4 separate regions of the Homo sapiens genome follow, and all the other regions are linked to region 1. The links are contacts of gene promoters, found by promoter capture Hi-C in blood cells and fetal thymus (Javierre and others, 2016). All regions are on one chromosome and are shown on one strand. Each heading gives the region's core, a stretch centred on a gene start or on the middle of the fragment in contact. The rest is flanking DNA. Distances are from core to core; before and after follow the strand shown.

Evidence for each region. The method cuts DNA at HindIII sites, captures the fragments that hold promoters and counts their contacts. A CHiCAGO score of 5 or more calls a contact.
Region 2: a contact is called between a fragment that was not itself captured here and the fragment with the promoter of KIAA0408 in region 1, in 1 of 17 cell types (monocytes). The highest score is 6.3, in monocytes.
Region 3: a fragment that was not itself captured here is called in contact with the fragment with the promoter of KIAA0408 in region 1 in 1 of 17 cell types (monocytes); the score reaches 5.3 in monocytes.
Region 4: a fragment that was not itself captured here is called in contact with the fragment with the promoter of KIAA0408 in region 1 in 3 of 17 cell types (monocytes, M0 macrophages and M1 macrophages); the score reaches 6.9 in monocytes.

What each region holds. Positions count from the first base shown.
Region 1 is chr6:127,456,321-127,462,605 of GRCh38, reverse strand. It overlaps KIAA0408, which reads left to right and starts at 3,217. Exons shown (of 6, transcript NM_014702.5): 1 at 3,217-3,431. The region is part of intron 7 of SOGA3-KIAA0408 (SOGA3-KIAA0408 readthrough); the gene reads left to right. The HindIII fragment of the contact is 12,466 bases long and covers 1-6,285 here.
Region 2 is chr6:127,274,477-127,280,851 of GRCh38, reverse strand. RNF146 (ring finger protein 146) reads right to left here. Exons shown (of 3, transcript NM_001242850.2): 2 at 512-621. The coding sequence starts at 513. Among named protein-coding and RNA genes, the nearest start is that of RNF146, 11 kb to the right of the region's middle. The HindIII fragment of the contact is 8,313 bases long and covers 1-5,722 here.
Region 3 is chr6:127,205,174-127,211,854 of GRCh38, reverse strand. All of the region lies in intron 1 of LOC105377989 (a long non-coding RNA gene), which reads left to right. Among named protein-coding and RNA genes, the nearest start is that of RNF146, 58 kb to the left of the region's middle. The HindIII fragment of the contact is 5,622 bases long and covers 910-6,531 here.
Region 4 is chr6:127,317,933-127,324,586 of GRCh38, reverse strand. All of the region lies in intron 3 of ECHDC1 (ethylmalonyl-CoA decarboxylase 1), which reads left to right. LOC105377994 (a long non-coding RNA gene) reads right to left here. Exons shown (of 4, transcript XR_001744334.2): 1 at 668-6,654. It also overlaps the pseudogene RNA5SP217. Among named protein-coding and RNA genes, the nearest start is that of ECHDC1, 22 kb to the left of the region's middle. The HindIII fragment of the contact is 4,105 bases long and covers 1-3,555 here.

The DNA of each region.
Region 1 (6,285 bases), core at 1,968-4,467:
CTATTCTTGGAATGGCCACTAAGTGGCTTTGTGACCTTGAGCAGATGAGTTACTCTCAGGGCCTCTTCCCTCAACTGTAAAATGAGAAGGTTAGCTAGATGATTTCAGAAGTTCTTTCTGGCTCTAAAATTCTGTAAGTCTGGAAACACCTGCTAGTGACATTTATGCACGCATTAGTTCTCTTTTACCCTTTTTAAAATGTTTTTGATTGTGCCTTAATATTATTATTAATATAGATCTTTTCCATTTCTTTTTAGAATTTTCTTTTTTGTTTCTTGACAGCAGGCAGTGTTTCTACATTTATTTTCCATTAAGTGTTATTATGTACATTTCTTTACATATCTGTTATACATTGAAATAAGATTAGTATGTCATAAGGTATGAATGATGTAATTCTTTCTAAAACATAGGGCAATCATTTGTGAATTTCATATTTGAAGATTTAAATGTTCAAATGGTTTAAAGAAAAACTGCATTACAAAACAAATTGCATTTTTTTCATAAGATTTTCAGTCATTCTGACACCTGCTTGAAAACCTCAGGCAGTTCAAGATGTCTGAATGTAACTGTAGGGCTGAGTATACCAGCATCAGTCTTTTAAATGCATTCATTTTATGTATATAATTGTGGTAAATTTTCTTTTAAAAGTTTTCTTAAAAAACAAAAAGTTTTCAAGGGAAAATATCAAAAGCTGTGCTGAACATTTCTTGACTTTGCACCGTATCACCTAATTGACTTACTTTCTGTCTTTTGGGTATGAAATATGGCCTGGAAATTATATATTTTATATAAATAACATATAATATAAATTATATATATATAAACTTCAACAGAAAAAGTTGGTAAATACTAGAATAAGTGGTAAACTTGGAGTAAACTTTTTGTCAAAGATTTTCATTATTATTTGATTCTGTGTACAATTTAAGATCAGCTTTACCATGACAAGAAGCAGATGAAGCACTTGAATCTGATATACATTGAAATAAATTAGTATGTCATCAGGTATGAATGACATAATTCTTTCTAAAACATAGGGCAATTATTTGTGATTGCCCTGGGACAATCACACTGGGACAGCCATTAAAAGAGATTGAAATGGGTACTACTGAGTGACACTTAGGAAGTATAGTCCAACCTAACATCTCTTGTAACTTAGACACATACTATCTGAATTTTCGATAGGATTTACAAAATAGTCTTAGTTTGATTTACAAGTGATACATAGAAGTTAAGAAGTTTGGAGTAGAAGAAAAGGTAAAGGAAACAATGTTTTTTGTTTTGTTTCTCTGAGACAGAGTCTTGCTCTGTCAACCAGGCTGGAGTGCAGGAATGCCATCTCTGCTTACTACAACCTCTGCCTCCCGGGTTCAAGCAATTCTCCTGCCTCAGCCTCCCTAGTAGCTGGGATTACAGGCCTGAGCCACCACAGCCGGCTAATTTTTTTATTTTTAGTAGACACAGGGTTTCACCATGTTGGCCAGGCTTGTCTCGAACTCCTGACCCCATGTGATCCACCTGCCTCCGCCTCCAGAAGTGCTGGGATTACAGGTGTGAGCAACCACACCCGGCCAGAAACAATGTTAAGACAATTCTGTATTGATGTTTTTGTGCAACTCCCTCCTCCCTTTCCCTCTCTCAAAGAATCTTCTTCCTAGCCTCATAAGCATGGAGGCAGACATGAGCTACCCTTTATTGTGTGCTTGGCGCTATATATATTCCCTCATATTCTTATGGCCTCTTAAAGTAAATATAATTATGTCTTTAAGGAAGAATCAGGGTCTGCAAGATCACACAGATAAGTGGTGGCAGCAGAATTGAAACTTAGATCTCTATGACAAAATTCCATGGTTTGCAATCAGACAAAACAGTTCAAACCCGTTTCCTCCACATGGGTGCATTTCTATGAACTTTTGCATGATGCTTTACCACAATGAGCCTTGCTTGGGTTTTATCAGTAAGATCAGATTATCAGTATCTAGAGACAGAATTGCTCTGAGGGTGAACTCAGATAAAGGTCTGTTCAAAGTACTTAGCACAGAACCTTGCAGAGGGTTGCCCCTCAGTGAATAATCACTATTATTACTATAACTATCACTGTTATTGTTGTTATTGCTGTTGAGATTATGATGTCAGGCTTTCCAGACACAGAGTATGGTTTCATTTGATTGTCCTACATGTATTAAAGTCCTACTGTGAGCAGGTTACTATTACTAAACTTTAGCTCCTCATGAAATGTTTATCTGGAAGCAGGTGAAAATAATGTGAGTGAATATGTATTACTTTAAAGACCACACCAGGGAAGCTCTTCAGACTTGAAGATAAGACCTTATTGTTTAAACTTGTGTATTTGCTAAGTTAGGCAAAAAATTGCTCTAGAGACTTTTTTGACTAAATTAAACCAAATATCATCAGATGCATGTGTGTACAAAGCCACAATAAACCTGAAAATGTCGCTGGGGAGGCAAGATCTCCTAGCATTTCAGAACAGGCTGATTTGATCATGATTTAGAGAGCTTTTCCATACACTTAGGCTGCTTTCTCTTCCTATGGCTGCAGCACACTTTAGTGGAAAATAAGCCCATAGGTATCTCATTTTTGGGGTGTGTGTGTGTGTGTGTTTTGTCCTCCCACAATAAGAAATCTCATCCTTTCCCATGGGCTCTGATTTTCTCTAACGTAAAGACATCGCTACTACTGTAGATAAAAGCAACACACTGTCAGAATCACAGAGAGCTAAGAGGTTGGACTTTATGTTCCATTTCTATTTTATTTGAAGATAGAAGTTTGATAACTTTCACAGATCTTTTGAGAGTGCATAATATATATAATTATGCTACACATATTGTTCTGCCACATCCAGATGCAAACTTCTAAAGGTGCAGCAGAGTACATCCTGCCACCAGCTGAGAAGGAGAAAGAATTATGGAAGGAGGGAGATAATTCTTGCCTATAAAAAAATGAGTTTACTTTCCTAATAAAATAAATCTAAAATTGGCCATTGTCATTGTATGATGTTAACAACCAGCTCTTTTGGCAAGTTTGAAAATACTGGGCTCCATTATAAAAGCTAAAAATGTCCTGGACCTGGAGTTGTTTACCCAGAGCATGAGCTGCTCTAAAGTTACAGAGCTCTGGTTGGAAGAGGTGGCTTGAAGGCCGCCTCCAAGTAACTGACGTCACAGTAGTCTCAGCTGCTGCTGTGACACTAAGCTGAGCAGCTTTTTGACTTGTAAAAGTGGTGAAGGTTTCAAAGGGACTTGTCAGTACTGCTCTGTGGAATGGTTGGACTTATTTTGCATCCCCTTTTCTTGTAAAGAATCGAGATTCACCGAGCTGAGACTTTTCTCTTTAAGACAGCTAGCCATCCACTTTCTTCCACTGCTAATTGACCAGTGGTCGAGCATCCATAGGATTTCTCCCCAGTGTGAAAGGTATGTTTCTTTCCGGCAAGTTTACAAGCAAGTGACTAATTATGGCAGGATACAAAGGGGCTGCTGTTGAGATGTTTTAAACTATGGATACTGTTTAAGTGGAGTGTAATTTCAACATCTGTCTCTGCTGTTGTCTGTGTCTGGGCTTAAAAACAGTGGGCGGGGTGCATAACAGATTGTACTGACTCCTAGGAAAAAGGCTGTTCAGCTGCTCAGGGTGGATTTCCCAACTGTGGACTGACAGTACCATCCGCTCTTTGAGACTGTTTTTCCAACACTGCTTCTCAGTTGTTTGAAAAGCACTTTGCCCATCATTGATTTTCACTAAGTATATTTATTCAAATGTGATTTTTTTTATTCATATAAAGACTTTTAACATTTGCAAATTAAAGGTCACAATCCTGGAGACTTGGTATTTGAAAATTGCGGTGAAAAATAAATTTTAGTTTTATCTAAGGTGGTGGTGGACTCACTGTAGAGTTAGTGTTTCTGTAATTTGAGCTGAAGTCTATGCCATTCATAATTGAATAATCTACGTTTAGGAGGGAAACTTACCACTATGTCTTTTGTTCACGATGGTTAGTTTTAGACATTTGTTTACTCAAACCAAATGTTTGCTTTTAAAGTTTGCATTTTATAAGTAAAATCAGTGTGCATACAGCTTGGATGTTTTCTAATTTGAGTAAATAACTGTAAAGAAAACAAGGAAGAAGATAATTAAATGAAACGGTAAAGTTGATTCATTCGGAATTGCATGTGGTAGTGTCTCTTTGACCTTGTTGGAGCATGAGGAATGTGCTAAATCAGCAATACACAGCAATGAAAAAAATTTCCCTTTTACTCTAACAAAATCAAATCATGGTGGTCTTTGGAAAGATTCAATTGCAAGTGAACAATAGAGAGGAATGAGATTTATTAATTCATTGAAATAATTCAAGTGATTATAATAGCCTGGAGAAAGGGATAGAGAATTTAGGAGGTAAATGGTACATTACTCTGATAGGTTATAAGCTGGGGAATTCCTAATCCATCAAAGTTAAGCAGAAGCAAAACATCTTCAGGCCAAATGAGTCTTCTAGGAATTGTGAGATTAGCAGTACCTACTGTGTGTGGCATTTCTATTGGAATATGTAACCTCTTATAAATGAAAAATCTTTAATTATGTGAAAAGTGATATGTTTAGCAAAAGGAAATAAGGACAGCAAGAAACAAGTACTCTAAACAATAATCTAAAAAGAGAGAAGTAGCAATGGAGCAGCTGCCCCTAAGGAACGCTGTTTAGTTTGTTTGGATGCAGTCCAGTTTTCAATGGGCGAGTTGGAGGTTGAAAGGGTAGTGACCCAGGTGTCCTAAGAATGGAGCACCCCTCAGAGAAAGAATTGCTGCCATGACCAAACTGAGGCTAATTTGGGGGTGAAAATAATTTCTTGTGAGACTTGTGTGTTACTCTTAAACTTTGCTTACTGGTAGGGCCGGAAGGCTAGCAGAACTATTTGCCTCCCATCACCATACTTATGCAACCCACTCACAACTCTTTATAATTCTGGCTTTCAGCCCTGGAAAGGGGAAGTAAGTTAAAAGGGATTATGCAATGCTGGTTTAGAGTTGGGGTGTGTGACTAAGTAATGCAGCTCACTCTGTCCTCTTACATTTGCTCTAATAAATTTTTATTCTGAAATGGAATTCTAGAAGGAAGAACATAAACTGGAGAGCCAAAGAGATATGGGGTAGGGGATGCAGATAGCAGAAATCCTTCCTTCTCTCCCACATAGATGCCAGTATCTGTGGGAGAAAATGAGTGACAACTAGGAACAAAAAGAACTTTTATTTTTGCCCCAGTAGAGAGCACTTAAATTGAGTTTTTGAATCTGCTGAACCACTTTACCCCATAACTTCTCATTACGAAACATTCTATCTCTACAAAGTTGCCCCTTCAGTTTGATATTTTTTGTAATATTTAAGTCAGATTTATAACAAAAGCAGTTTTACATAAGATTTGTTCACATTTTTATTAACAATAAAACTTTTTTCTTTAAATATGTGACATGTATCTTTAAAATATTTGAAAAAAGGCAAAAGAAGATCATGGAGAATATGAGAGTTCACACAATTACACTTGCTTCTATCTCGTTTTAAAATAAAGACCAAAATAATCTGTTTTTTTTCCAGAGAACAACATGGAGAGGGATAGATGGAGAAAGAGAGGAGAAAGGGAAGGAGGGAGGAAAGACAAGAAGAGGAAGGGAGGGAACAAAGGACAGAAGGAAGAAAACAAGAACCAAGTATTTTTCAGGCATTTGCTATGATCCAGAGCAGTGTTTAGGCACTTCTTTTAAGCATTTTTCCCTTTTGCTCACTTAATCTCCAAAACAATTCTATGCCCCCCCCCCACCACTTTATATTTAGAGGTGGAAGCAATATGTTTGGCTGCGTTACATCTAACATTATATTTACGACAAGACTGAGATGCTAAGAAGGCCAAATCCTTCCACAAAAAATTGGCACAGATATTGCTCTATAGAAATGTTCTTGCAAAGGCTTGTTTCTGATCCATAACTATTACATTTCTTGGCACTAGCAATTGCTCTGGGCCTGGAAAGGAAAAGCTCCATACATTGGTCCTTCTCCATATTAAGGGATGAGTTTGGCTCTTTGCAAATAGGTGCAGGATTCGGTCTGCTTCAGGACTGTTACCTGGGTTTAGATATAGTCTTGTTATCAAGAGCAAGACTGATCTAGGGTATTCCTGAATGATCTTCCGGTAGGTTAAAAAGAGAAAGGCCTGGCATCTTTCAACAGTAGCATGGAAGCGATTCAAGAAGAGTTAGGAATAGAAGGAAAAATTGGAGCCATT
Region 2 (6,375 bases), core at 317-2,816, 180 kb after region 1:
AAATGATGAAAGCACAACTAGTAAAACTGGGGATCAGAGTGAAGTGATATGAATAAAATGCAGTGATGTATTATTACATTAAAAAAATCAATTATGTAGAAATTCCTTTAATTTAGTGAAACAAGTTTTTAGTAACTAGAGTTTTTATAACCTAGTAGTCTGTCTTATTTACAAAAGCTAGTACTACTTGCCTAGCTTAGTTATTTAAGAAAATTATTATGTAAAAAGAAGGTAGAACCCAGAGGACCTGGAGATCTATTTCAGCATTCTTTGAGCAAACTCCTGTGTCTTCAGTTTTTCTTATAGAGACTTTTCCTTTTGAGGAGACTTGGAAATCTACATTAACGATAACTTAATGTAAATAAATTGTTAATAAAGCACCTATAAGTCAAAAGAAAATGCTCATTTAATATAATTAAAACTACATATGACAGATACTCAATTTACCACACGTTAAACCAATCCATTTAATTTACTGCAGCACTGAAAAAAACCATGATGCTACACTTACATTTCTATTACAGATCCCACAGATGCCTGCCACAAAAATAAAGCATTTTCTTCACCAGCAGTCAGCCAGCTTACAGTATTTTCTCTTCCACTGCTGGTTCATTCTTTGTGCTGCAAAAGAAAAAAAGAGTAATTAAGATCAAGAGAATCAGTTAATTATGTATAATCCTTTCAAAAAATTCAGTGGAAAACTTTATCTTAAAAGTGGGAAAAATTAAAGACAAGATGCATGCTTTTACCACTGCTATTCAACATGACTGTAAGTTCTAGCAGAGCAAATTAGGGAAAAGAGATAAAGGCATACAGACGGGTAAGGAGGAAGTAAAACTATGTCTATTCTCTCTAGATAGAAGATCTCATAGAATCCCCAAGAAAGCTAATAAACAAATTCAGCAAAGTTGCAGGTTACAAGTTTGACACACAAAAAAATCAGTTGTGTTCTGATACACCAGGAGACAACAATCCAAAAAAGAAATCAAGAAAACAGTTCATTCATAAAGTAACTAAGGGAATAAAATAGCCAGGAATCAACTTAACCCAGGAGGTGAAGGACTTGTACACAGAAAACTATAAAGCATTACTGAAAGAAATTAAAGAAGAGCTAAGTAAATAGACAAGTGATGTATGGATTGGAAGACTTAACATATTAAAATGACAATACTACCCAAAGTGATCTACAGATTCAACATAATTCCTATCACAATTCCAACAACCTTTTTTGCAGAAATGGAAAAGCAATCCTCAAATTCATATGGAATTGCAAAGGACCCTAAGTAACCCAAACAATCTTGAAAAATCCAATGTCAAAACTTACTACAAAGCTAAGGTAACAAGACAGTTTGGTGCTGGCATAGGACAGATAAATACACCAATGATATAGAATTGAGAGTCCAGAAATAAACTCATACATCAATAGCCAACTGATTTTCCAAAAGGGTGTCAAGTCTACTCAATGGGGGAAAACAGGCACCTCTAACTAATGTTGTTGGGACAACTGGATTTCCACATGCAAAATAATTAAGCTGGACCTCTACCGTATACTATATATAAAAGTTAACTCAGAATGAATCAATAACCTAAATATAAGAAATAAAACCATAAAACTCTTAATAGAAAACACAGGAGCAAATCTTCATGGCCTTAGATTTGCAATGGATTCCTAGATATGACATCAAAAGCATGAGAAACATAGGAAATAAATTGGGCTTTATATAAGTTTAAAATTTTTGTGCATCAAAAGACACTGTTAAGAAAATAAAAAGACAAACTGCAGAATGGGAGAGTATCTTGGCAAATCATGTATCTGATAAAGGTTTAATATCCAGAATATGTAAAGAACTGCAGCTCAACAACAAAGACAAACCAATTAAAAAGTGAGCAAAAAATGAGTAAAGAACTTAAAGAAGATACACAAATGGCCAATAAACACACAAAAAGATCCTTAACATTATTAGTAATTAGGGAAATGTAAATCAAAATCACAATGATACATCTATAAGGAGGCTACAACTTTTTTAAAGGGAAAAATAATAAGTGTTGGTGAGGATGTAGAAAAATAGGACCTTTGAAAACTGCTGGTAGGAAGGTAAAAGGGTGTAGCTGCTGTGAATAATAATTTGTTGCTTCCTCAAAAAGCTAACACAGCAATGCCACTCCCAGGGATATAGCAATAGAATTGAAGAGGTTCTCAGACACTTGTATGCCAATATTCACTGCGGAAATATTAGGCAAAAGGTGGACACAATTCAAGTATCTACCAACAGATGAATGGATAAACAAAATGTGGTCTATAAATACAACAGTACATTATTCAGTAATAAAAAGAAATATGTGCTACAATATAGATGAACCTTGAAAACATACTAATAAGCCACATACAGAAAAGTATGATTCCACTTACATGAAATATCAAGAATAGGCAAATTCATAGAAGCAGAAGGTATCAGAAGTTACCAGAGAGTGAAGGAAGGAAAGTGGAGAGTTATTGCCTAATGGGTACAGAGTTTCTGTTTGTAATGCTAAAAAAAAGTTGTGGAAAATCTATAATGGTGATAGTTGCATAACATTGTAAATGAAATTAACTACATGGAATTGTACTCTTAAAAACCTGTACCATCTCAGTCATTAATCTTCTTTCTTCTCATTTAGTATTTCCATCTCCACCTCACCATGTCCACTACAGGACGCACATCATATTACACAGAATAATCAAGAACACATGATAACTAAAGAAATGATAGATCTCACAGTAAACACAAGATAGAGGAGACTTCAATCTTCTTTTATTTCCATGTGGCTCTCATACTATGGGCATCTATCTCCCTACGGTATCTTAAGATTCTAGTGTTTAAAGAAACATATTCTTAATGCCATTATGTGGCCCCTAAATACAAGCTGACTTATCCTACCAAATGTTTAACAGAACAAACAATTTGTTTTAAAATCAGAGAACTTTCAAAAGTAACTGACTGTGATGGTTAATACCGAGTGTCAACTTGATTGGAGTGAAGGATACAAAGTATTGATCCTGGGTGTGTCTGTGAGGGTGTTGCCAAGAGATTAACATTTGAGTCAGTGGGCTGGGCAAGGCAGACTCACCCTTAATCTGGTGGGCACAATCTAATCAGCTGCCAGTGAATATAAAGCGGGCAGAAAAATGTGAAAAAGAAAGATGGGCCTAGCCTCCCAGCCTACATCTTTCTCCTGTACTGGATGCTTCCTGCCCTCGAACATCAGACTCCAAGTTCTTCAGTTTTGGGACTCGGACTAGCTCTCCTTGCTCCTTGCAGACAGCCTGTTGTGGGACTTTGTGATCGTGTAAGCTAATACTTAATAAACTCATATATATATTCTATTAGTTCTGTCCCCCTAGAGAACACTGCCTAATATACTGACTAAACAAGGTTTCTAAGTAACCTTTTTGTTTTACTCTGACTTTAGATGAAATGGACTCCACTATTTTGACTTTCCTCTCAACCCTTTCACCAACTTCAAGGAGCCTACAACTTCAATGGCATCAAAGAAGGCTATGTTCATTTCCTTGCTGCAGCCTACGCCAAACAGAAAACTGCACATTTTCATACACTCCCTATATATAGGACAGGAGGAGACAATTTACTGCTCCAACATCATTACTTTTTCTTTCAAGTCTCTATCACACTGACTTTAACATACCCCATAATCCCCTAAAACTGCTCTCTCACCACCTGTAAGGGATTAATGTCATCTTTTCACTACTGATCATCCTCTTCATCCTAACTCCTGACATGACTATCAGCCTATTTAAATAGCCTTGAAAATGAACCATCCAACACCTATTGCACAGGTTCTTAAACTTGTCCCAACTTCTATTCATCAGAATCACTGAAATTGCTTGTTAGAAATACATATTCTCAGCCCCTTTCCTTAGAAATTCTAGGCCAGTAGACATAGGTTTAAACCTAGGAATCTCACCCCAGGTGGTACTCATGCTTTAGTCCTTCAAATACAATCTGAGAAACACCATCCTCAATTTTCAGTTCCTTAAATCCTAAATTTGAAGAAATTAATCTACTCTCCAGCAACCAAATATTATAATCACATTTAAAGCTAGTTGTCACCTAAACTGCTGCCTCTCTGAAATCTTAATCCGACTCTCAGATCACAAGCTCTGGTTCTTCCAGCCTACTCATTCCCACACCTGCTCTTCAATTTCATGGGGACCTACCATCTCTTGACCATCTCCTTTCCTTTATCCAGTTCCTGATCTCATTTCCTTTCCTGCCCATTCTGGAACCCAATCTTTTTTACTTCTTAACAGAACCCTTGGCCCCCTCATATCTTTATCTCATATACACACATTTTACAAACCCCCATTTCTGCATAATTCTTACAATATGACATCTCAGGTTTCATGTCTTAACTACTTTGTGTTCATGGAGAAAAAGAGAAAGTCCTTTCTCTCACCACACAGCCCCCTGCTCCCCCACCCCAACCAACCACACCATAAATTCTGTCAACTTTTATTCCTAATCCCTTTGGAATCTATCCTGTACTCTCTACCCATTGCTAGTGCCCTAGTTTAAACCTACATAACTCTCACCTGGACTATTGTTCAGCCTGATTATCTTGTGTCAGTATCACCCTCATTTATTAAGCCTTTGAGTGAGATTCTCTCTCTCTCACTCTCTCACACACACACACATACACTCACTCTACAGTCTGTTTCCCAGGCTAGAATGCTGTGGCATGATCATAGCTCACTAAAACCTCAAACTGCTTGGCTCAAGCGATCCTCCCATCTCAGCCTCCCAAGTAGCTAGGACTGACTGATATATTTAAAAGGCAAAATGGACCAGGTTTCTTCCATATGTGAAGCACAATATTGGGTCCTCAGCCTACACAATAAAGACAAAGCTCCTTAGGACAACATTAAAAGGTTTTAAAGATCTAAACTGTAAATAATTAGTCTCTAGTCTTTTTTATCTTCAACAACCACCCATAGATTAATAATCTAGTTGTATAAAATTACTCATAGTCCTGCAAACCTCCCTTTGTAGCTCTGTATTTCCTCCTGCCTGGTACGATCTATTCCCTTTTACAGCTTATGAATGCCTATTTGTTCTTTAATATATTACACAGAAATGGTTATCTCTACCATTTTCTCTGACTACCTCCAGAAAGTTAACTGTTCTCTCCTCTATGTTTTGTATGTTTTTCTATTACGGAATTTATCACATGCACTAATTTCAATTCATTTGTGAAGTCTGACTCTTCTGTGAAATCATGAATCCCCTGAAGATAGGGAGATTTTTATATCTTTAAATAGCTAGTAAATTGTCAATCAATTTTTGTTGAACTGATATTTTTTGGATGAATGAAAAATCAACTCCTAAAAGTAACTATTGTGAGGAACAGAATATCAAAGGATTAGATTTATTCAAATAACACAACACTTGAGTTCTAATTGTGAACTCAAGCTGGAATCTGTAAGATACATAAAAATATCTAAGTTCTAATCCTTGCTTTATATAACTTAAAATCTAAAGGAGTTCCTACATTTACAAATATAAAATTCAACCCATCTTTGTATCTTTTGGCAAGCAAATCATTTACCCAGCTATTGTTCATTGTCAATGAATTCTCCAAAATGGAGATAAAAATCTAAGCATAAACCAAGATGGGTTTCTGAACAGCCAAAACAGCTTCACAAAGCTCTTTCCCCAATAAAGCTTATGATTCTTCACTAGGATGACCACATAGGTCAGCCCAGCATCTATCCAGTTTGCCCTTGGTCTCCCAACAAGTGTTCCAGTTCAGAAAAATTATACAGACATTCTACCCTTTACCCATCACAAAGGTTTTCGGACCATCACTCAAAAGTCAATTTGCTCTTACTTTACCCACAATTCTTTTGTTTTGTTTTGTTTTAAGAGACAGCGTCTGTTAACCAGGCAGGAGTCCAGTGGTATGACTGCAGGTAACTTAAACCTCAAACTCCTGGCCTCATGTGATGCTCCTACCACAGGCTCCCAAAGTGTTGGGATTACAGGTGAGGGCCACCATGCCCAGCCTTTACCCACAATTCTAACTTGAAGTTTTTTGGTCCACAAAGTCCTGCTGAGTGTTGCTGTTGGTCATTAGCACTGCCTATCCTTCGCTATCTTACAAGTCTTTTAAGATGTACCAATCCATCCTTCTCAGAACCTAATTGATTGAATGGTAAAACCTCTAGTGTGAAGATTCAATTAAAACATTTCTTCTAAAAATTTCGTTCAATCACTATTTGTACTTTAATAATTGAGATGTGTAGAAGGTACCATTTTATTCCTAAGAAATACACAAAAAATGTCCTTGTTTCTAATTCTCCTTATCTCCTGAATGCAT
Region 3 (6,681 bases), core at 2,471-4,970, 250 kb after region 1:
AGAGAAGTTAAGGTTTAGAAACAGTAACATGAAGTCCCGTTCTTTTTTTTTTTGACGCGGAGTCTGGCCGTGTGGCCAGGCTGGAGTGCAGTGTCACGATCTCGGCTCACTGCAATCTCTGCCTCCCGGGTTCAAGCGATTCCCCTGCCTCAGCGTCCCAAGTAGCTGGGACTACAGGCGCGCATCACTACGCCCGGCTAATTTTTGTTTGTGTTTTAGTAGAGATGGGGTTTTCCAGTGTTGGCCAGGATGGTCTCAATCTCCTGACCTAGTGATCCGCCCACCTCGGCCTCCCAAAGTTCTGGGATTACAGGCGTGAGCCACCGCGCCCAGCCAAAGTCCCATTCTTCTGGCTCCTTCCTTCATGTACATCCTTCTCATTCTTGGTCATCCCCTACTCCCCAAATTCTATGCTTTTCCTATTTATTTTGTGCTGCTTCCAGTCTGATCTAGCCACTTCTCACATCCATCTCTCTATCCATACCTAGACTCCAACATACAGCTCTTCTAAATTGAGCTGTCCATTTCTTTCATTTAGTGGATATTTGAATAATTCCCTTAAAAACGGGGGTGGCCTTGAAAAATCCCACCTCATGTGCTAGAATTCCCTGGAGTTACACTTCCTGATAGAGCTCATGGGTGAATTTGAACATGCTGTGGTTTGAGGACATGAATGAATGGCCACTTTTCAAGGCTCCAGCTCAGTGGTATGGATATTTTATTATGGTGCCTTTGAAGAAATTCTAGCCCAAGAATGCAGACACTCAGAATAGCTTTTTCCCAGGACCTGACTTTGGGGGTTGGGGGCGGGAGTAGCAGCAGCTTCTGGGAATGGCGGGCTGTCCACAGCACCATTGCTTCCTTAGCTCCTTTAGGCACCGTTATCAGCTTCTTAGCTCCTAGTAAGCTTGTGGTCCAATAAAACCTCTGAGGGTTGACTTTTTCCGTGCCAACTGCCATTCATTTCCTTGTATTGTGTGTTTTGTTGTATTTTAACGTAAGCCTATTTTTTCTTTTCTTACTGATTTTATCATTTTGGCCCAGCCTATCATCACACCTGCTATTTTACAGTTTCGACTTTCTCCTCCAAAGTATCAGTTATTTCTGTCAGCACTGTCCTATTTTTTTTTTTTTTTCAAATTCAAGTAGGCATGCTTTCTTTAGCTTCGTCTAAGCTATTGAGATGGGGCTAACAGGGCAAGATGAAGGACAAAGAGATTGACATAGATAATTTTATCAATACTTCTTACATAGGGTTGTTCAATCAGATATGGAGCCATCTAATTGTAGCTGCTTCTCTAAATCTTATACATAAATATATTCAGGGAAGTTCTGTCAAATCTGTTATTTAATTCAATACACATTCTGTAAAACTTCCCTAATCTATTACTTTAAAAACTCTAAAAAGCAAACAAACTAAACCACAACAGAAAAATGGGATTAGTAAGGCAGAGAGCATGATACCTGAGAGGGGTTGTGATCCCATGTGTCCTGTAGTTTTCTCTGATGGTAAAGGCCGGTATTCTAGCTTCTTATCAATAGTTTAACATTATTTTTAGAATTTTATCAGATACCAACACACAACTTTGGTGCAGTCTTCAAAATCCACAATTGTTTCTCAGGGCAAGCCCTGTTATTTAGGCAAAAAGGAAATATGTTTTGAAAATAAATTTTTTTAAATGAGCAGTTTTGGAGGGGTGCTGAAACATAATTGATTTTTTTCAGAAGTATTTACAATACATGTAAGATAATTGCTTTATTTTCTGGCCTTATATAATAAATTTTATGATTTAGAATCTAACTTGAAAGCAAGCATTTCTCTTTTATTGGCTTAGGAGAAGTTGTGAAGATGTGTGATTTTTTTACAGATCATCTGAGTTTCTATAGGACAGAAAACTAGAATTCTATATTTAGTATTGGATCCATACTGTAACCATTACATTAGGTTTCTATTTTTAAGGATTAAATAGTAAGTTAATGGAAACAATATAGCCCTATTTTTGCTTAATATGCTAAGCACAAGATGCTTTATATGAGCAACTGAATACATTAATAAAAAAATCTCATTTTTAATTGAATAGCTGAAATGATGCCAATATGTGAAAGAATTATAAACTGTTACAAAAATAACTGGTTGCATTAAACAGGATTGCATATAGTAGACTGCTGCTGCATGTGTTTGAAAAAGGAAATGCAAATATGGAAATAAATATATGTATTTAATTAAATAAAATATAATTAACAGGTTTAAATTTTTTAAGGGAAATTTTGCTACTAGGCAGTGACGTCAACCTGAGCTATTTTTTTTTCTTGTCAGTGATTTATATTCATGATTCAAATATTGGCTGACAATTTGATCAAGGGGGAGATAAGGCATCCTTAAATTGATATTAATAATATTATCAGACTTGATATTTTACAGCATTTTACATTTTAAAAAGATTCTGACATCTATTTTTATTTTATTTGTAATTTATTTAAAAAATAATGTACAAAAAGTAGAAAGTAATATAGTATACACGAGTTTGGGGCACAGAGTTGAATAGCCAATATTGCCTAAAAGTTGAGAAATTTGACTTAGGTGTTAAGGAGGGCAGCAACCAAGATTGATTTTACATGAAAAAAAAAATCAGTTAAGATGAAGTAGCATTACCAAATGCATTTATATAGAAAAGGATACAGAGAAATAAAGGTGAAGGCAAAAATATCTTACTGAAAATTATGAAGTGATATGGGAAGTCAAGAGAGAAAGTTGGGAAGATGTATTGGGGAAAACAAGTTTGAATGGAAATTCTGTTAAAATTGACATTTATCCCTCACGCTTAATATTTATAGTGGAATTTTAGTTTTATCACAGGTGTGGATAGTTCTACTCTTTGTTAAATTAGAACATTTACTCTTTTTTCTCCTTTGCCTCAGTAGGTTAATGGCTGTAGTCTAATTTCTTCATAAAGCAGACCCAAATAAAACATATGTTGACTCTCTGTAGGCTGTACCTTGAGTTTCCTTCTTACCCACAGATAGAAGCCTTCTCTATTGAGTTGTCTACATTCTGCATCTTCAATTCCCTACCTCTCATTCTTTCTTGGCTCACTGAGACCTGGATTCTGTCCTCAGAACTTTGTTAAAATAAGTTCTAAAAGAACACCATATTGGCAAGTCCTGGGGACACCTGCCAGTCTTCAGATTGATTGATTTTGTTGCAATATTTGATATAATCGTGCCCCATAATGTTTCTATAATGTTGCTTTCTTTATTCTTGACCTGTTTACCTCTGAGTCCATCTTTCTCAGTTCCCTTCATAACTCCCTGTTTCTCTACTCACTCTTTAAATATTGCTAATTGTATTCAATCTTTTTTCTTCTCTTTCACTGAATTCTCCTTAGGCTCACTCACATATGCCCTGTGATTTATTTATTAGATAATTACTTCTAAATCAATATCTCTACCTTTCATACAGTTTAGCCCAGGGACAGACCTATAATATTCCAGACTCCTAGGAGATTATCTCAATTGAATATCTGTCACACACCTCAATCTCAACAAAGCAAATAAACAATCCCACTCTCAGCTGTGGGTGATTCTCTGATTAATGACACTGCTTACCGAGTGAGACATGGGACTCACTTTGCTCCCCTGCTTCTTGCTATTGGTTACATGTTTCATGGCTTCTACCTTCAAATGATCTCTGGTGTCTATTCCCTCCTCTCCTTCATCTTTTTCTGCATTAATTCAGGTTCTTTTTATTTTGAAGTTGACTATACAATTTTATACTCCTATACTTAAAACTGTTACTCATCCGAGTGTTCTTCATTCTTAAAAATCCATCTTTTCATTGTCACCAAAGGCAACTTTTAAGACAAATAGAATTATTTCATTGCTCCTCATAAAAACCTTAACAGACTCATCACTGTTTTCAAGATAAAGTATAGACTCTTTCCCATAACATATAAGGCCATTTATCATCTGTTTCCTGTTCACACTTCCCAAATCTCTTGCCAGAGAACACAGAAACTACTTGTAATTCCCCAAACTGCATATTCTCATTTATGCCAGGCTTTTCTCATGGCCTGTGATACCCAACCCGACATTCATTTCCTATTTTGTTTCACTGCCAAAGAAGTACTCATGATTGAGGAATTAGCTCACGTTACTAAACACTCATCCTCTCCTGCTCCTGCATCCAAGCCTGAGTTAGGGGCTCATTCCTCTTGACCTCCGCACCAGGAGGCACAGACTTAGGTAAAATACCCTCATAGCATTTGGGTATCTTATGTGTTTCTCCTAGTAGGAAGATTCAAAGACAAGAATTTTATTTTGTGGATTTGTATTATCTGTATCAAGCATGTTGCCTGGTGAACAGTAGATATACTGTAAATACCTATTGATTAAATTAAATATTATAGAAAGATTGATTATTGAAGGAAATATATGTGTATGTATGTGTGTTTACATGATTGTATTTATATATATTTATATATAACAGAAATATCGATATTTCTGTTTCAGAGTGACTTGGAAATTCTATTTTAAGCAAAGCACATACATTTTAATTAGTAGCAATTTACTGGGAACCCAGTACATACTTGGCATGCCACATAGTTTCCTTTAATCTTCACAACTCTATACAGTCTGTAAAAATATTATATTTATTTTATATATGAATATATGGAGAATCAAATAAATTACTTTTCCAAGAGTGCACGGTCAATAATAAAGAGATTTAAATGCAAGTCTTTCTATCTGCAAAGCCTAAAATAGACAGAACTTTTAAAATTTTTATTTGTTGAATTATTGTTTGTTGAAAGAGAGGAAATGACTAATAATGGAAGCCAAAGATGATTCTTTTAAATTTATTACAACTTGTGGCTTGGGTAAATTTGATCTTACTTTCAGCCTTTGCAATATCTGATGAAAGAGGGTCTGGAATTTAGAATATCCTTTATGTAGCCTGCCTGCAACTGGCATTTTGGCTAATCAAAATAAGAAAAAAAGGAATGTTTAGTAAAATGCCTGTTATTTTCAAAAGGAAAATTTTTTAAAAGGAAAACTGAATTCCTCATTTTGCTGGTATAGTTTAGGCCATGTGAGAAACACAATAAATATGTGCCATCAGGAGCAGCCTGTGAGCAGATGAAACTATCTCAGACATAGCTCAGCAGTTTTCCTCTGCCAGACATTACTTCCTATGGAAAGAGAGACAAGTATACTTTTAAAAAACACTTATATGAGATTAAATATCCTTACATATTTATTTGACTAAATGGAAGGCATTTACTGTTCCCCTGATAGTTAACAAGTTTATTTCATTTTATAAAAATAAAGATTTATACATTGGGAACAAGAAATAATTTAGGGTATATACATTTCAAATAATTTATTTTGTCATTATTAGTAGTAGTTATTGTAAATTAGGTATAATGGTTTTTAGGAGGTATTATAATTTACTCATAAGTTACATATATTTCTTTTCTTTTTTTTTTTTTTGAGACAGAGTTTTGCTCTTGTCTCCCAGGCTGGAGTGCAATGGCATAATCTCGACTCACTTCAACCTCCACCTCCTGGGTTCAAGTGATTCTCCTGCCTCAGCCTCCCAATTAGCTGGGCCTACAGGTGCCTGCCACCATGCTCAGCTAATTTTTTGTATTTTTAGTAGAGTTGGGGTTTCACCGTGTTGGCCAGGCTGGTCTGGAACTCCTGTACTCGGGTGATCGATCCACCCACCTCGGCCTCCCAAAGTGCTGGGATTACAGGCGTGAGCCATGGCGCCTGGCTGTAAGTTACATATATTTCTAATGAGTTTTTTTTTTTTCTTGGCATTGGAATACAATGCTTTCTATGTCACCTACAAAAAATCTTACCAGAGCATTACACAAAATAAGAGAAGTAATTCCTAGGGCAATTATCTACATAATAATATTATAGTAAAATTTACTAGGAGCAACTCAAGCATTTGATGTAATTATTTTGTACAGGTAGAGAGCTGGACCAGTTGCTGTTTGCCGATGATAAATGTTAATTGAATGGGATAACTACACATAAGTCGGATGCTGATAGGAAGTGCATGAAACATGGTCTCTGCCATTGCAATGAGAAACAATGGTTGAATGTCATAATCATTATAATATACTCTTACAATGGAAGTATTGTGTTTTTCTGGTACATTATATTGGAGAAATTGGTTTCCCAAGACAGAAAGAAGATTTTTATGTAACAGGACAGTAATAATTAGACCTAAATATAAACCATTTTCATATCTAAATTAACTGCTTGGTGACTGAGTGCTAGTTTCAAACAGTAGAAAACAAGGGAATTAAAATATAACTAAGAAGATAAGCCCAACTTGCAAAAAGCCATTATGGACAGACAGTATTCCATTCTTTGGATTTTAAAGTAAAATCAGTAAGTCTTTGATTTGTTTTTGGTTAATAATGGAAAGCATTTTCCAAACTAAAAGAAAATGAAATTAATACTTTATTAATGGTGCTAAGAAAAGCTAGCACTCCCTCTCACCCCACTCCTAGCAAAGCTTTGCCTCCAGATGTTATTTTGTATTTATTTTGCAATGTTTATTATGGCAGTCCAAGATGTTTATGTCTTAAAGATACATTGGTCAGTTTATTTACAGAGAGACAGCTTCTTGAAGTGAAGGCAGTTTACTTTGGGTGTGGGTTAAGCTAC
Region 4 (6,654 bases), core at 254-2,753, 140 kb after region 1:
TAGAGGATGGTGATAGAAACTAAGATCTAGGTGTTAGGTGTTTCTGTTTTTCAAGTACATTGATATAGCACATTCCTGGGTTAGTCGAGCCTACCTGTGACTAAAATAGGATAAAGAAAAGCTCTTAATGCAGAGTGAGAAGTCTTGGGTTTAGACATAGGCCTGCCACTCAACTAAATGAGAAAGTTGCTCAATTTCCTCTTAGCCTCAGCTCCATGGGATATATAAAATCTATCTCACAGGCGTTTTTGAGGATTGAGTTAGCTAATGTATTCTAAAGTGCTTTGTAAACTAGAGGGAGCTACTGTAACATTTTAAATAGGTAATATAAATTAGTAATATTAAGATGATAGATCAAATTCAATATCATCACTTTTCCTTTAGCAGTCATATGAAGTCAGTACTTTTGTTATTGTTTATTTGTTTTGCTTTTTAAAGATTAGGGTGCAGTAGTGGGAAGGGCTGAAGAAAATGAAGGACAGGAAGATTAGCAATGAACAAAAGTGGTCATCATTAAAAATCAGCAAGAATTTGAATTCCTTTAAGTGGAAGCTCTTTAGCATCTCATGATAAGTTTTACATGAGCTATGTATATAAATCACCTAGTTCTGGCACATAGTAAAGTTCAAGAAGTAGTAACAAATTTAAAAATATGCTTTTGAATTACCCTGACAGAGTAGAAATACTATCATCTTCCTTTATCAATCCTCCAAGGAACTTGTTTTCATGAATTCAGTGCTCCTTCCCCCTCTACCACATCTTCTAGGAAAAACAAAGAAAAGAAAAGAAAGGAAGGAAATGAAATTAGAAAGGGAAAAAAGTAAAGTTTTCATGATATTCCATAAGTCTCATGCCACTGTATGTAGTATATGATTATTATTTGCACATGTGAGGAAGAATCTTTTGGTTAATCAGAACACTGGCTTTGATAAACTTGGATTTGAAAGCTGGTTTCAATACTTTCTGGCTAAGTGATTGGGCAAGTCACTTAATCTTTCTAAATCTTATTTTCCTAGTCTATAAATGAGGAGTATAGTGGATATTTCGCTGAGCTATTGTGAGGATTCAAGATAATATATATAAAGTGCCTACTAGCACCGTATCTGAAAAAGGTAGCTATTATTTTTATTTCAAAGATCTTGAGATTAGTAAACATTATCATTAATGAGATGATGCATAATTTGTAGCACCCCACTAGACTTAAATTTGTGATGTATCTGAACGGTTATAGCACTAAGCTGGAAATTTGAAAAGACGGATTTTTCCCTCCAAGATCTAATAATTAGCTATGTCACCTGCAAGTCATTTGATTATACGGGTTGAGTATCCCTTATCCAAAATGCTTGGAACTAGAAGTATTTCAGATTTTACATTTTTTCAGATTTTGGAATATTTACATATATATATATAATGAGATATCCTGGGAATGGAACCCAACTCTAAACAAAAAATTCACTTATATTTCATATACACCTTAAACACACAGCCTGGAGGTAATTTTATACAGTATTTTCATTAATTTTGTACGCAAAACAAAGTTTGTGTACATGAGATCAGGTGTGGAATTTTCCACTTACAGTATCATGTCAGCACTCAAAAAGTTTTAGATTTTGGAGCGTTTAGATTTCATATTTTCATAGCTCAACCTATATATATGTATTTTTCATCTCTCAAATGGTTGTATCACTGTTCACCTTAGTTCATGAAAGACACTGTTAAAGACAGAATGATATAATAGACTGTTGTGGGTTTGATATAAGCTGGTTAGGAAAACATCTCTAAAAAGTGAGTGGTTATTTTACTTTCTAATTTTCTTTTAGTTAGAAGGTTGTTTCTGTCTCTTTAGATCATGTGACCACGATTCTTTTTCTATATATTTAGAGATGGAAGTGGAAACATGCTTATTGTTTTATATATACATCATTGTATATATATATATACACACATATATATATAGTATATATACATCATTGGTCTGGCATAAGTCATGCAGGAAAACATGGAGAGAGTTTTTATTCCAGCTTCAAATAAGGAATCACTTAGTAAAGTTCATTCTTTCTAGTACCTACATTCTCCAAGTAATCTGCTCTTTTCAGTGCCTGAAGTAAATCTTGGTTAACAGCTGAGGAGTAGTATTACTGCAAGTGTTCGTCACTTGTTGCTGTATACATCTGTCAGTCTTATCAAGGAAATGTGGAATGGTGAATCTGCTTTACAATGAGTATGCCTAGAACTCAGAATCTTATTTTATTTAAAACATTGATCTCGTTTTATTTTATTGAGACAGAGTCTTGCTCTGTCACCCAGGCTGGAGTGCAGTGGCAGCGATCTCGACTCACTGCAACCTCCGCCTCCTGGGTTCAAGTGATTCTCCTGCTTCAGCCTCCTAAGTAGCTGGGATTACAGGCGTGGGCCACCATGCCCAGCTAATTTTTGTATTTTTAGTAGAGACAGGGTTTCACCATGTTGGTCAGGCTGGTCTCAAACTCCTGACCTCAAATGATCTGCCCTCCTCGGCTTCCCAAAGTGCCAGGATTACAGGCATGAACCACCAGGCCTAGCTACTTTTTTGTTTGTTTATTTTGAGATGGAGTCTGGTTCTGTTGCCCAGGCTGGAGTACAGTGGTGTGATCTTGGCTCACTGTGACCTCCACCTCCTGGGTTCAAGCAATTTTCCTGCCTCAGCCTCCCAAGTAGCTGGGATTACAGACACCCGCCACCACACCTGGCTAGTTTTTGTATTTTTAGTAGAGATGGGGTTTCACTGTTTTGGCCAGGCTGGTCTCGAACTCCTGACCTCAGGTGATCTACCTGCCTCAGCCTCCCAAAGTGCTAGGATTACAGGCGTGAGCCACTGCACCTGGCCCGACGTCCAGCTATTTGAAAAAGCATTTTATAGGGTAGATGAATTCTTTATTATCCTTTAATGAAATCTCTGAAGTCATAGTATAAGAAATATATAGCATAAAAGTAAGCACTTTGAATATGGATAATTTTAAGAATTGTAACAATACATATAAAGTATGGAATGTGTTTATCACATTATGATTTTAAAATTAACAAGAACTAGAAATAGTTTATGTAAAGTTCCCGATATTTCCATGTTTCCTATAAACTATATTCCTATATACTTGAGAAGGAACTATAAATCTGTGTAAAGCTGAAACTTAAAATGGCCTCAGGACTTTTGAGGCTTATACATGTATTATATATGAGTTACAGCTGCAACATATAAATGCATCTACCCCTCATGGCTGAAACATTCTGAAACTTATCATGGCTTTAAGTTATAAACAGTTTGTCTGTTAGTGAGGCTCTTCTTTATCCAAATACTTACTCTTTGTTGTTACAGATGCATCACTAGCATCTACTTACTTGCTGAATTTGCTTTCTGAGGATGATGAGATAACTGAAATATATGACAATTTTAGCAATTAGATTATATTCCCTTCTAATAGTGATAAAATGCTTGGAAGTGATTAAGTGGCTTTTTTATCATAAAAATATAATTATTTTGATGTTTTTACTACTGTATTTTTTCAGTTTTAAAAAGCTTTTTATTAATGTAAACTACAAAATACAGGTAAAAGCAGAGACTAATACAGTGAAACCCTCATGTACCCATAAGAGCATCAACCCTATCAATATTTTATTATATTTCTTATCTATTATTCCACTTTTTTTTTCTTTTAAGTGTAACTGATCCCATAAGAAGTTGATCGCGTCTTGGTATGCTTTGGTTATTGTGCAGGAAAAGAGCTCCAACTGTCCCTATTAGGCAGTTAATTCTTGGTTCAGATGGTAGAGGCCAGGAGATCCACTAGGATAACACAAACATTAACCCTGCTGAAAAGTTATGTATTGGAAAGACAAAGGAATAAAATAGAAAAAAATATATTTAAATATTAAGACTTGGATTTGATGCCACAGATGTCCTGTAGGCTATAAGAAGTTTCTTTTCAGAGGGAATAAGTAATCAAAGTGCAGTTATAAGCTTCAGAATATGGAGAAATAAAAACCTGCTTAGTCTTCAATGGATCAGTATAATGCCTCAAGGAAAAGTCTGGCATTTAGAAACCTTTCTGTTCTTAATCTACCTTGAAGACTATATCCTCCTTTGTCCCTTAACTTTCCTTGTTACTTTTCTCCCAATCTATTGTTCCTTCGATCTCTGTTGCTTATGTTTCTATGGTGACCTCAAAGTTCTTGTCTGACTTCCTTGTGTTTGCTACTACTATTGTACCATACCCTGATTAATTTACAGACAAGCGGCCAAGCACGGTAGCTCACACCTGTAATCCCAGCACTTTGGGAGGCCGAGGTGGGCAGATCACCTGAGGTCAGGAGTTCGAGACCAACCTGGCCAACATGGTGAAACCCGTTTCTACTAAAAATACAAAAATTACTTGGCCATGGTGGCAGGTGCCAGTAATCCCAGCTACTCAGAAGGCTGAGGCAGGAGAATCACTTGAACCCAGGAGGTGGAGGTTGCAGTGAGCCAAGATCACGCCACTGCACTTCAGCCTGGGAGACAGAGCAATACTCTAGCAAAAAAAAAACTATTTTAATTTTCTCTAAGCTCTTCCATGTATTTTGAGGAAATTAATAAATCCATACAACAAGCACTTAAGAAAGGGCTTATTTTTGTTTCTAAATAAGATACTTCTACAGGCTGGGCATTTTTCCACTCTAAACATGGCTTAGAGTACATATGATGTTAATCATTCCTTTTGGCATTTTGGTTGAGCATTGTTCTTCTTATCCTTGTTTTATGAGAAGGAGCTAGAGGAGTAGGGTTGGATCTCAGGTATCATCCAGATAGCATGAAAATATCACTGTCTGCAGCAACTTTGAAAACCTTGTTTTAGTACTTCTCAGCTTCCAGCTTTTATACATTAGAGCAGGTCTAGCTTTTTACTGGTTCCTCACCCACAGCTTACTCTATCACAGATATCTCTTACTGGCTTATTTGCTTTCTTCAACCCAGTGAGAGGACAGAGCATTTAACCATTGTGGGCTTAATAACTTTGGAGGACAAATTTAATGAAATCTTTCTCATCTCTAGGGCATGTTGGCCATTACTGCTTAAACTTCTGTTTTATGATACACTTAAAACCAAAACATACTCATTATCTATTGCCAGTATTGTTAGTAATATTAATAATAATGATAGATAACTTTTATTCTCTTACTGTATGTCAGACACTGTTCTAACCTTATTTTGTGCCATAACTTAATCATTACTAGCTCCCTTAATAAAATATATACTACTGTTAGCACAATTTGCAGATAAGAGACTGTAGGACAGAGAGGTTAAGCAGCTTGGGCAAAGTCAAACTAATTAGAAAGTGCTAGAGCCCAGATTCAAATGTAGGCAGATTGGCTTTAGAAACTGTGCTCCTAACCGTTTACTTCATACTGCTTCTAATAGACATTTTTAGCGTGCCTTTTGTCTTTTGAATGAAAATTATAATAGTACACAGGCTAATAATTTGCTTCACCTTTATTTCTACCAATTCTAGATACTTCATTGGAATTTTATGTAATCTAAATGTAGCAAGAGCAAATATGCATATTAAAATTACTTGATATAGGTAATAGAACAGATTTTATTGGAAAGGTTTTTAGCAGAGAATAAACCAGTTTACTTTGAAAGCTTTTTAGCTCCTCGTGCCTGTGTTAATTTTCTCATCACTTCGTGAGATACACTGATCTTCCTGATAACAGCTTTGGATTAGGAAATTCCTTCCACATTGGCTTTTACTTTTTCTTGACTGCATTTGTTTTATAAATCAACATAGTTCTCCATCTAAAATTCATCTAATTTTTTTAAGTTCAACAAACACTATGTGCAAAACATTTTACTAGCGTCTGAGGAGGGGGAAGGCATACTGTCACCATCAAGGGACTTACTGTCTAGACCTAGCAAATGCCACCTTCCCTTCTCCTCTCTAAAGCCTGTCTAACTACCCCCATCCCAATTGAAATGAATAATTTCTTCTTTGACACTCTTCTGAGTTTGTTCAAGCACTTTGTATAATACCTGTACTTTGATAGTTGTATTTCTGTATCTCTGGCAAAATTATTGAGAACTTCTTAGGTTCTCTAGTCCCCATCTTGTAGAGATGATGTGTCTGATAATGCATCTAAACACATATTCATACAACACAATTTATAAGTACTATAATTAAGGCATAAAAATAAAAATACTGTTGAAACACAAAAGAGAAAATTGTTATTGTGAGATTTAGAAAATCTTGATGGAAAAATATTATATGATCTGGGCATTCCTTGAAATAGGTAGAGAGAAGGACAGCCTATTACAACTAGTAGGAATGATAAAAGCAAAGACACAGGAGCCACAATAAGTGTAAGGTGTTAGAGGGATGGCAAATAGTTTGTGTGGTGAAATTAGGATGCTTGGAGGAGGGGTATGGTAATCAATAAAGTTGATAAGATAGTTTGGGATCAAGTGGCCTTGCCAAGAAATTTAGGTTTTATTCTATAAGACATCATCATCCTACAGGAAGGTTTATCAGGTAGCAGGATGGAAGATTATATTTAAGAGGAAAAAGAAATTAAATACAGAAATCAGTTAGGAAGCAAAGCTGTTGTCTCCAGCCATACCACCCTGAATGCACCCAATCTTGCCGA